3 separate regions of the Homo sapiens genome follow, and all the other regions are linked to region 3. The links are contacts of gene promoters, found by promoter capture Hi-C in human tissues and cell types (Jung and others, 2019). All regions are on one chromosome and are shown on one strand. The core of a region is centred on a gene start or on the middle of the fragment in contact, and the rest is flanking DNA. Distances in the headings are between cores, read along the strand shown.

Region 1 (3,270 bases), core at 771-3,270, 49 kb before region 3:
GCTTCTTATTTTCATTCATCAAACTTTCCAAAAATGTGCGTGCAATTCACACACTCAAGTTTAGACTTACATGGCATTGGGAGTGGTGGGAGGGCTCCATTCCCAGAGAACTAAAGAATTTCATAAAAATCCCTAGTGATGGCTCCTTCAAAGTCTGACTCAGGCAAACCAGGAGGGGTGAAAATCCTTGTCGCTCTGCACAGGGGCCTGGGGAGGCCCACATGGACATCTCCCTGCTCTCAGGCTACTGATCTCTTCATGGGGGCCAGGGCAGATGGCTGGTAAGAAAATCTTCTCTCTTGGTGGCTGAATGCATGCCAAGTGAGCCTGGGCTGCTCCCTAGCAAGCACAGAGGCCACCAGATAGGGCTGCCCTGCACACCCCACATAAAGGAGGCCAAGTCAGGAGCAAGTGTGGGGTGGGGGAGGCCAGGGAGGGGGTGAGGACTGGGGCTCTGGTGAGCTACCACATTCAGGCTTGGGCCACCTAGGATGGGGTGGATCAGTGGGGGTGCTCCTGAAAGCCGGTCCACGGCAGGGTGGGGAAGCAGGTAGGGGCAGCTCTCCCTGTGGACCCAGGTGTGTATGGCCTAATAATTAGCCCACAGACAGACTGAGAAGTCAAAAAACTCTTGGATATCCAAGCGGAACGTGTAAAGTTGCCGGCGGCCTGTCCGTGGGATGGCTTACTCAGCCTAAAAAGGAATCTGCAGGGAGGGCAACACATCTGCTTTTAGTGACTCCAAGAAATGGGTTAAGGGATTCCGATCTGTCTAAATGAATAAAGCCTGGTGCAAAGAGAGCCCCACAGCATCCACTTCCTACCAGAGCTGCCCACAGAAAGGCTGGCGTTGTTTGCTAGGGAGTCAGCTCCCCATTGCTAGAAGTAAGCAAGCACATTCCAGACAAGTAACCAGGAGAAGATCTAAGCCTCAGGTTAAAACGAATGTTCAAAGGCTCATCAAGGGCCTGGAGCATCTGTAGCTGGCCTCTGCTTTGTAAGCATGAAGCACAGCTGTGCTAACTGCCACCTGCATGGATGGACGCACACAGCCACCTCGCCTGCCACCTGGGCCACCAATCAGCTTCCCTGTCCTTCTCCTCACTCATTAAAAGATTCCTGACCAGACGTGGCTGTGCTCCCTGGAGGGGCTGGTGAACTCCTGCAGCCAGGCTGGAATCTCCTTCCCTGCAAGGCCCTGCCTGCCCTGTTTCCTGTGGCTCTCACGGTGTGAACACAGCCCAGCACGTTCAGGCAGGAATCCAACAGGAGGAACAGGTCAGAGATGTGGGCTGGCTCATCACTGGGGATCTGTCCCTCGTAGACTTTCCTGCTGTGGCCTGACAAGAAGGCTGGCTGCCACCCTAGAGGCTCTTCCTAATTTGATCTATTTCCTAGTTCTATTTCTGGAAGGCAGGAAGAGACCCTACTTGAGCAAACCTCTTAGCTCCTATATTAAGGAGTTGTATTTCAAATACAGATTCGCAAAAGCCAAAGGAGAAAAAAACAAGACATTGGAAGTAGCCATGAAACAACCTGGGATTTGAAGAACTTCTGGAATGTTCCTTCTCCTCCTTTGGTCCATGCTGGGTCCGGTGGTGGGCAGTGCTCTGAGAGGTGTGTGACTGTGGCAGGGCTTTCAGGACCGAAGCGACGGCCACTCACAGAGAGCTGGGGGGGCGAGCCACTGCCTGGGTGATGTCTGCTCAAGTTCCACCCACCCTCCGCAATCCAGAAGTCTTCCCAAGTATTCTCCACCTGAATTATGTGGAAGTTTCCTGACTTCTCTACTTTCCAGGACAGCTCTCCTTGGCTGGCGGGACTGGTTTTTCCACTCTGGCTGGTGTCAGACATACTCAGAAGAATGAACATCTAATGACATGTTTGTCAAAGTAATGCGCGTCCTGCAGCCCATGCCCAGCATCTCATTGACAGCTGCTCTGTCAGCTGGCAAACTCTACGCCCATCAAAGCTTTCCAACCATTCCTCTTGCACCGCAGGCGAGCTGACTGCTGCTGGTGCTAATGAGGTTGAGATTGTCACACACCTTCCTGGGACACAATTGTGTTGCACAAACACACAGCGGGCCGCACGGCAGGGCAGACACACACAGACCCCAGCCTCACACCAGCTGGGCAAAGCCCCCCACATCCAGGGGCTTTGAAAGGATTAACCATTGTAAACAAACATGAGCTGAGGTCACGCAAGTCACAACAGGTAGGGGGTGTGAAAAGGCGTGCCTAGTACACAAATAAAAAATTAAAAATACCATTACCCCAACACCCAAGAGTAGACACTCTTTTTTAAAGTGTGGGTCTTTTTCTAACGCACACGTGGAAGTATAATAAGAACGTCGTCGTTTTCAATCACGTTATCTTCCAAGGATTTTTAAAGCATGAGAAAGCTGTCCCTACATAATTTTGAGTGTCGTTAGTTTTCCTTCTGGCGGCCAACTTTTCTCAGCCGGAGCTGGAAATTAGGCCTGAACAGTGTTCCCTGAGTGAGGCTGGTGGATTTGGGGGGTGGGAGAGGGGAAACAGGGCTCCCTATCATCCCAGGAAGTCTAGGAGAAGGTGGGATGGGACAAATCCAGCTTAGGCTCTGGGGACATGTGCAGAGGGTGAGTCCTGCGGGGGGATCAGCTGCAGTCATAGTAAGTCAAGTATTCCGCATTTATTCCAGAAAGACTTCAAGGCAAAGAGGCCAGTGGAGGCAGATCTAACTTTGGATGTAAGCACAGGAGGTTTACCGTTTAGATTCTAAACACAAATCATCAGTACTTAAATAAACAATAATTTAAAAATAACTTGCAATATTATTCGTCTGGATGCAAAAGAAGGCAAAACAAAACAAAAAGCAATGTGTAGATATTGCAGGAAACATAAACAGCACCGATGAGCAAAGCACAGTGACTGCAATCCCAGCACACAGACGTGGCCACACGCCACCCTTTGAGCATTACCTGCTCCTTGGCTGTAGTCTTAGTGTACACATTTATTAATATATTCTGCGAAAATGAAATCCAACATGCAATGCGTTAAAATTGGGCTTTACAGAGGGAGCACTGTAGGCTTTAGTCCCTGGAATTAATAACTTCTGTTAGTGAGCTCCAGGGCTGGGGCTCACAGGCTCAGTTCTGCTGGTACCACCTGTGGGACCTTAAAACTCTGAGTATGGGTATAAATTAGTAGCTTCTCACCAGATTCCTTATGAGGATTTGGTTATTATTGTAATTCATTAACATGTAACATAATTTTCTTAATGCTAAAC
Region 2 (3,230 bases), core at 353-2,852, 35 kb after region 3:
TGCACTGGGTTCAGAGTTATCTTAATAGGTAGCCCAGTGGCCAGTTTCATCGGGAGCGACAGCAAAACATCATCCTGATTTGATCTTTTGCTGCAAGCAGGCTGGTGGTTGCCATCAGAAGACTGTGTCAAAAATAGAAATGGCTCCCCAAAGATTGTCAATTTGGGGAGCTCTAAGACAGACGTCTTCCATGAATGCAAAAAATACAGCTTCAAGAAGAGGTAATTGGGTGGGGCTGAGTGGCTCATGCCTGTAATCCTAGCACTTTGGGAGGCCAAGGCAGGCGAATCACCTGAGATCAGGAGTTCCAGACCAGCCTGGCCAACATGTCGAAACCCCATCTCTACTAAAAATACAAAAATTAGCCGGGTGTGGTGGCACATGCCTATAATCTCAGCTACTCAGGAGGCTGAGGCATGAGAATCATTTGAACCTGGGAGGCAGAGGCTTCAATGAGCTGAGATTGTGCCACTGCACTCCAGCCCAAGTGGCAAAGCGAGACTCTGTCTCAAAAAAAAAAAAAAAAAAAAAAGATGATTGGTGGGTGTCCCCTTCCTCTTCCACATCAAGCTGCTGCAGCTGCCAGAAAATAAGCCTTCTGCCACCAGCAGAAAGGGAGCAGAGCCCAGGGCATCACCAGGAGCGCCTGGTAATATACCAGCACCTTGCCACCCCTCCTCTCCCTTCACCCAGACACATGAGAGAAATGGAAAAGGATTCTTCACAGAGCACTCGGGCACACTGTATCAGAGAAAAACTGATAGATTCGTTCATGGTTTTTCTCGAATTCCAGAAGCAAAGCTCTGTTCTCCATATTGATATGTTCTCCCTAAACTTAGGTCTTCTAAAAAGAAATAATATTTCAGTCTGCTGCTTGAGGAGTTGACAGTGAAGCTAACCCAGTGAAAAACGTGTTCTTGCAGCAACTCTGGTGGCAGTTGTCCTTGAGGGGGCTTTGGTGTGTGGAAGCTATCAAAACAAGAAATGTGCACATTTAGTCTTGTAACACTTACCTGGCGGTGCTGGTTTCGTGTTATTTTCCTTTAAAAAAATTGGGGACCCCGCACGGTGGCTCAAGCCTGTAATCCCAGCATTTTGGGAGTCTGAGACGGGTGGATCACTTGAGATCAGGAGTTCGAGACCAGCCTGGCCAACATGGTGAAACCCCGTCTCTACTACAAATACAAAAATTAGCCGGGTGTGGTCTTGCGCATCTGTAGTCCCAGCTACTCGGGTGGCTGAGGCATGAGAATCTCTTGAACCCAGGAGGCAGAGGTTGCACTGAGCGAAGATCGCACCACTGCACTCCAGCCTGGGCAACAGAGCAAGACTCTGTCTCAAAACAAACAAAAAATGCTATCACATTAATAAAGTTGGTGTTTATTTTATTTTATTTTTATTTTTATTTTAAAAAAAGAGTTCTCTTAGGTAAATACACAGCTACTCTGATTCGAGTCTCAAATGGGACCTAACCATGAGCCAAAAAGCAGAGTGGTCAGATGATTTCTGATGCACCCCCTGCTGTCTTTCTGAAAGGCACAGTGGCAGGATGCCTGAGTGTCCGGGCCTCTGCTCCTGGAGGGGTCAAGAAGCAGCCCACGCTCAGATACTTTCTGGCCCCTCCCTAGGGCCACTTGCACACCTCTCTCTCCAGTGACATGAAAGAACCTCCCTGAGAGGCCAGAATCAGACATCTGTGACCTGGGCCCTTCAGGGGTAAGTCTTGGTCAGCAGATGCAACCCTCTAAAGTGACCGACTTTATCTGACCTTGGGACAATGGGTCTAAATGACCCTGGGATAACAGCTAAGGGTGGCTCCGCCTAGGCAAGGTGTTGTCCCCATGTATCTTTCCCAGATTCGAAGGCCTCTTAGCCCTTCACTTGATCAGGTGGCAGAGACCTCACACCAGGCAAACAAGCTGTTCACACTGTGGACCACATACCCTCCAGGTGTCATCTGAGGTCATGTGGTCATGCTTAGAAAACATCGCTCTCACCGGAGCACCCGACGTTGTCGCGTTAGGAGTGGGCCCACATTTCACTCCAGCAATCCAGCCCTGTCTAAAACATACCCGGACAGCTCAGGGCTTGGGGAGCATGATTTTGATTTTCCTTGTAAGTGACAAATCCTTGTTCTTTGAGGGCGGGCTTCATTTTGAAAACAGTTCTAAGTCACTCAGATCTGGTGTAGAAATAATCATAGTAGGTAACACCATTTTTGTTTTCTTTAAAAAAAATCTTTTGAACGTAAGCAAGGTAATGAGATCACTTTTTTTTATGAGACTTATTAACCTTTTTTGGTGAGGTTTATTGGCAAGGTGAGTCCACATTCTGCAATTCCAAGCATGTTCCAAAGCTGCATCGTGGGAGCGGGAGTCCAGCCACCCAAAGGGGCTGCTTTGAAAGGCAGCACCCGGAGGAATGTGCGGATTTGGATCCAGCTGTTCGGGACTCAAGTCTATTCCATGCTTTTCCAACACAGCTGCGCTCTGACAGAGGCACCCACTAACTGGGTCCATCCTACGTCCTGGCACTTCCCCACACAGTGACCTGCATGCTTGTTAGTTGCATCCAGGTTCAAGAAGCATTTATCTAAACAGTACATTCTGTAACTTATTACATGTCATCAGTCAATCAGCCAGAGATCATAGTACGGAAACTATTTGAATTATTTTCTGCTTTCCTTCAAAATACTGTCCCAGGGCTGTTGTGGGTCACTGACATTTACAAATTATCCTCACATCAAGAATTAGAGAATACTTTGGACTCAACCAAAAACAAAACCAACAACAACAACAACAAAAACCACCAAACGAATCCTCACTGCAAACTCTATTTCAGAGGGTCTCCGTAGTACCAGCGTCTTCTGGTACTAGGTCTGTATCACTAACTTCTTTCTTGCTAGTTTCCCATTATCTACGTTAAAAAAAAAAAAGAGCATGTCCCAGTTAAGTGACTTGTGCTTATTTTTGTGAACATAACTCTTGTTGCTAAAATAGGACAGGGTAAAGCTGATGGTCCCGCTGTAAAATATGAAAAGTTTCCAATTTCTTCTATTACCTGGTAAAATGTTTCCCTTCCAGAGAGACAGCTAGAATTTAGCTGTCCAGCAAGAGGACTAAGCAACTTCTCTGCCAGAGGGTGGTTGAGCCCTCAAACCCGTGCTGCCGACTTTAGGTTGTACATGTATGTATTCTGGGGAATGTGTGCAGGATTCTGGTTTGGCTGTA
Region 3 (3,197 bases), core at 551-3,050:
AATTGTCTAAGGTCTCCATAAGGGCTACATCTACACTTTAAAAGTGTCCTAAAAATCATAGAGAAAGAGGTAAACTTTTTGTATGTGGTCAGATTGCTGATAGGACTCAAAAACATAAAAAGTAAAAGGACCATAATACATTTACTGTCTGGTTTCTATATACAGTATTTTGAAATCCTGTACAACCAAAAGAAAACAAACAACCTCCCCACTTAACCATCAGTAGCAGCAGCCAAGCACCTGGGGTTAGGGTCTTACAAAATTCGGGTACCATTTTCACTCTTCCCAGAATTCGTGTTGGAATTTTCACTCTGAAGCTGATATTACAAATAAAACTACATTAAGAATAATTTCCAGCGTTTAGTTTACAGCGACGTGTCTTTGTTGATTACAGAGCCTTCTGAAAACAGTTAATTTAAATGTCTTGTGATCAGAGGCTCAGCCGACATTGGGAATTAAGTGCCAAGAGACCCAAATCTGAAGGCCACACATAGTGCCCTGCAACTTTCTCCGCTTGATTAAAATTCTTTGAGAAAGATAATTGCTACTTCTTAAAGTAAAACGGATGAGGAAATTCTCTAAGTGCGGTGTCAGCTGGAGTTGGGGGCTATGGGTAAAAGCAAAAATCAAGAGAAGCCAAAGGTGGGGAAAGTTAAGGCAATGGCTCTCGGCCTGGCCTGTGCCTCTAAAGTGCCCCAGCACCGGCCCACGACAGACGCGCACGCCAGACAGCCTGGGGGTGTCCTCCATCGGGTCGCGCTCCCGGACCCGGGTCTCTCGGCCCTCCTCAGCCCCAGCTCAGAGGCCTCGGAGGCCTCACCATCTTCTTTTATTCCTTTCTGCCCCGGGCAGGTAATCTCGCCGTTCTGCCAACGCTGTAGCCTCCCAGCCCACAGAGCGAGGAGGCAGAGAACCGTGCGCTTCTGCGGCCTCGCGACCCACCGCTTCCCAAAGGCCCAGGTCTGCGACCTTCCGGAGCGCGCGCCTTGTGTGTAAACACCGGGACCTCTGGGCTCCGGGGAGGTTTCGTCAGTAAGCGAGCACCTTCCTACTCCTCCTCGTTCTGCTGCTGAGCCGGGTATAAACTAAGCACGGAAGGCGCCCGCTGCGCTTTGCTCGGAGGACCCGCTTCCCCAGTCTTCCAACTGCAGCTCCGCCATCTGCCTCCCGGACTCTCTCTTGGCGCTCTCGGACCCTCCGACCCTCTCAAAGCCAGACTCGTCCACCCTGGAAATCATCGCAGGGGTTTTTGGGGAGGGAGCTCCCCAAAACCAGCGCGCTCCGAGTCAACGCGGCGCGCACCTCCACTCGCGATCAAAGCGGGCAGCGCAGGGACACGTCGGGGCCTCGCAGGGATGCGGGCGGCCCGGCCCCGCGCGGGCGCTGGACGGCCTCGGTTTCCCGGCTTCGAGGCTCACAGCGCCGAGCCCCGCCGCCTGCGATCCCGCCCGAGACGTCCCGCGAAAGGTGCGGTTTCTGGAGAGCCGCGCCCGGGCAGGGAGGCTCGGGTCTCGGCGGCGCCCGGCGGACCCCCGGCCCGCTGCTCCCTCGCCCCCGCCGCCCCGAGTCTGGCTGCCCAGCGCAGGGGCCCGCGGCCGTCGGGTGGGAGGGGCGCCCGCCTCACCTTGGTGAACTTGACCTCCAGGTTGCGGATGGGGCGCGGCAGGGCCGGCGGCTTCCTGTCCGGCTGCCCGTTTTCCACGGCCCCGTTAGCGGTGGCCATGGCTCCTCCGCGCTCCCTGGCCCGAGGCGCCCTAGTCTGCGGCGCACCGGCTCGGCCCGGACACTGCGCAGCCCGCTCCCGGGGTGGCAGCTCCCCGCCGCTTTATGCAGCGCCCCACGCCTCCCGCCCGAGGGGGCCGCCTAATTGGCTGCGGGACCGGAGGAAGGGAGGGCGGGCTGCGGGAGGGAGGAGAGGGGAGGGCGGCCGGCCCGCCTCACCCCGCCCCGCCCGCCGCCCCTGCGGGAGCCCGAGCGCCGGCGGCTCCACCCGCGTGCCGCGGACCGTCCCGGCGCCCGCGCCGCGCGCTCTCTCGCCCCGGAGGCTGCCTGTGGACGAGCTCCCCGAGGAGCCGCCGGGCCCCGGAAGTCGCAGGGCTGGGACACCCGACCCGGCAGGGAGCTGAGCCGCGGGGCCACGGCGCCCCGCTGCCTCCCCGAAGTCGGGCGGGCTCCCCGCGCGGCACATGCAGCCCACTCCCAGCCGCCGCACGGCGCGCTCGCCCGACTTCGGCCGGCTCGCGGCGCTCGGGAATGCGCGCTCTCCGCCGGGCCCTGCGCCGCGCCCGGGTCGGGGCTCCTGGCGGGGCCGCCCCGCGTCGCTGCGCACGTGCCCTGCTCTTGGGTCCAGCCGCCCGATCCCCGCTAGCAGGACAGACGCCCGCTGCGCCCCACCCTGCCCGAGCGCGGACAGCCGGCGGGCGCACCCCGGCCCAGCCGGCCTGGAGTCTCCCCGGGGCCCTGGGGCTTCGCCCGCGGTGGGGCAGAAGGCGAAAGCAAAGCGCCGGACCCGGGCGGCTCTCCGCCGAGGAGCCCTGGCGCCGCTGGGCCTCTGACCTTCGCAGGCGCACACCGCCTTCCATCCCAGAGCCCGGGGGGCAATTGATCTGATTTTTTAAATGCATAAATTATACCTCGATTAAAAAATGATAATTAAAAAAAAGCACATGAGACCTTTGCTGCTAATCGTTTTAAGAGTTTAAATTCTTGTCGCGCATTACTTCCCAGGAGGGGGAGGTAAGTCTAGCTCCTCTCCTTTTGCGATTTGGGAAACGCTCCATCAACTCCCAGGACTTGACCCAGGCCCCATCTGAGACACGGAAGCGGCTTCTGATGCATGCCATTCCTCAGGTCGCTGGAACAAAGACCGGAGGCACGGACTCCTGACAAAAGCTGTGCTTTAATCCTCAGATAGGCTCAGCCCCTTCAGTTCATCTCTTTCTGTAGGTAACCCCAAGTAATCAACAATGGGGAGGGGTCTCCTTATTTTCCTGTTTTGAGGCCTCCGTGTCCATCTCTCTGTCCCCTGGTGTCCTTCTGGATAGAGCTGGATAGAGGGGTAAGTTTTGAAGCTTTTGGAAACCCCACATCTGACCCTTACCCTGGGGTTGTGGAAAGGTCTTGTGCTGTTATGGCCTGGAGTGCACAGCTGAGGCCGGGGAAAGGGGATAATGGACCCTCGAGCGGGGCAGCCTTGA

The links. Contacts are between HindIII fragments. The study calls those that stand out against the background at their distance.
Region 1: a fragment that was not itself captured here is called in contact with the fragment with the promoter of ALDH1A3 in region 3 in 1 of the 25 tissues and cell types used here (bladder).
Region 2: a contact is called between a fragment that was not itself captured here and the fragment with the promoter of ALDH1A3 in region 3, in 3 of the 25 tissues and cell types used here (IMR-90 fibroblasts, dorsolateral prefrontal cortex and pancreas).

What each region holds. Positions count from the first base shown.
Region 1 is chr15:100,927,684-100,930,953 of GRCh38, reverse strand. The region is part of intron 2 of LRRK1 (leucine rich repeat kinase 1); the gene reads right to left. Among named protein-coding and RNA genes, the nearest start is that of LRRK1, 10 kb to the right of the region's middle. RefSeq lists an enhancer at 683-1,636. The HindIII fragment of the contact is 4,366 bases long and covers 1-3,270 here.
Region 2 is chr15:100,843,599-100,846,828 of GRCh38, reverse strand. It overlaps the pseudogene PHF5AP6. Among named protein-coding and RNA genes, the nearest start is that of GCAWKR, 4.5 kb to the left of the region's middle. The HindIII fragment of the contact is 6,076 bases long and covers 1-3,230 here.
Region 3 is chr15:100,878,434-100,881,630 of GRCh38, reverse strand. ALDH1A3 (aldehyde dehydrogenase 1 family member A3) reads right to left here and starts at 1,800. Exons shown (of 13, transcript NM_000693.4): 1 at 1,625-1,800. The coding sequence starts at 1,723. It overlaps LOC124903575 (collagen alpha-1(I) chain-like), which reads left to right and starts at 1,828. Exons shown (of 1, transcript XM_047433433.1): 1 at 1,828-2,685. The coding sequence starts at 1,828. The coding sequence ends at 2,610. RefSeq lists an enhancer at 754-1,268 and a silencer at 1,760-1,879. The HindIII fragment of the contact is 10,500 bases long and covers 616-3,197 here.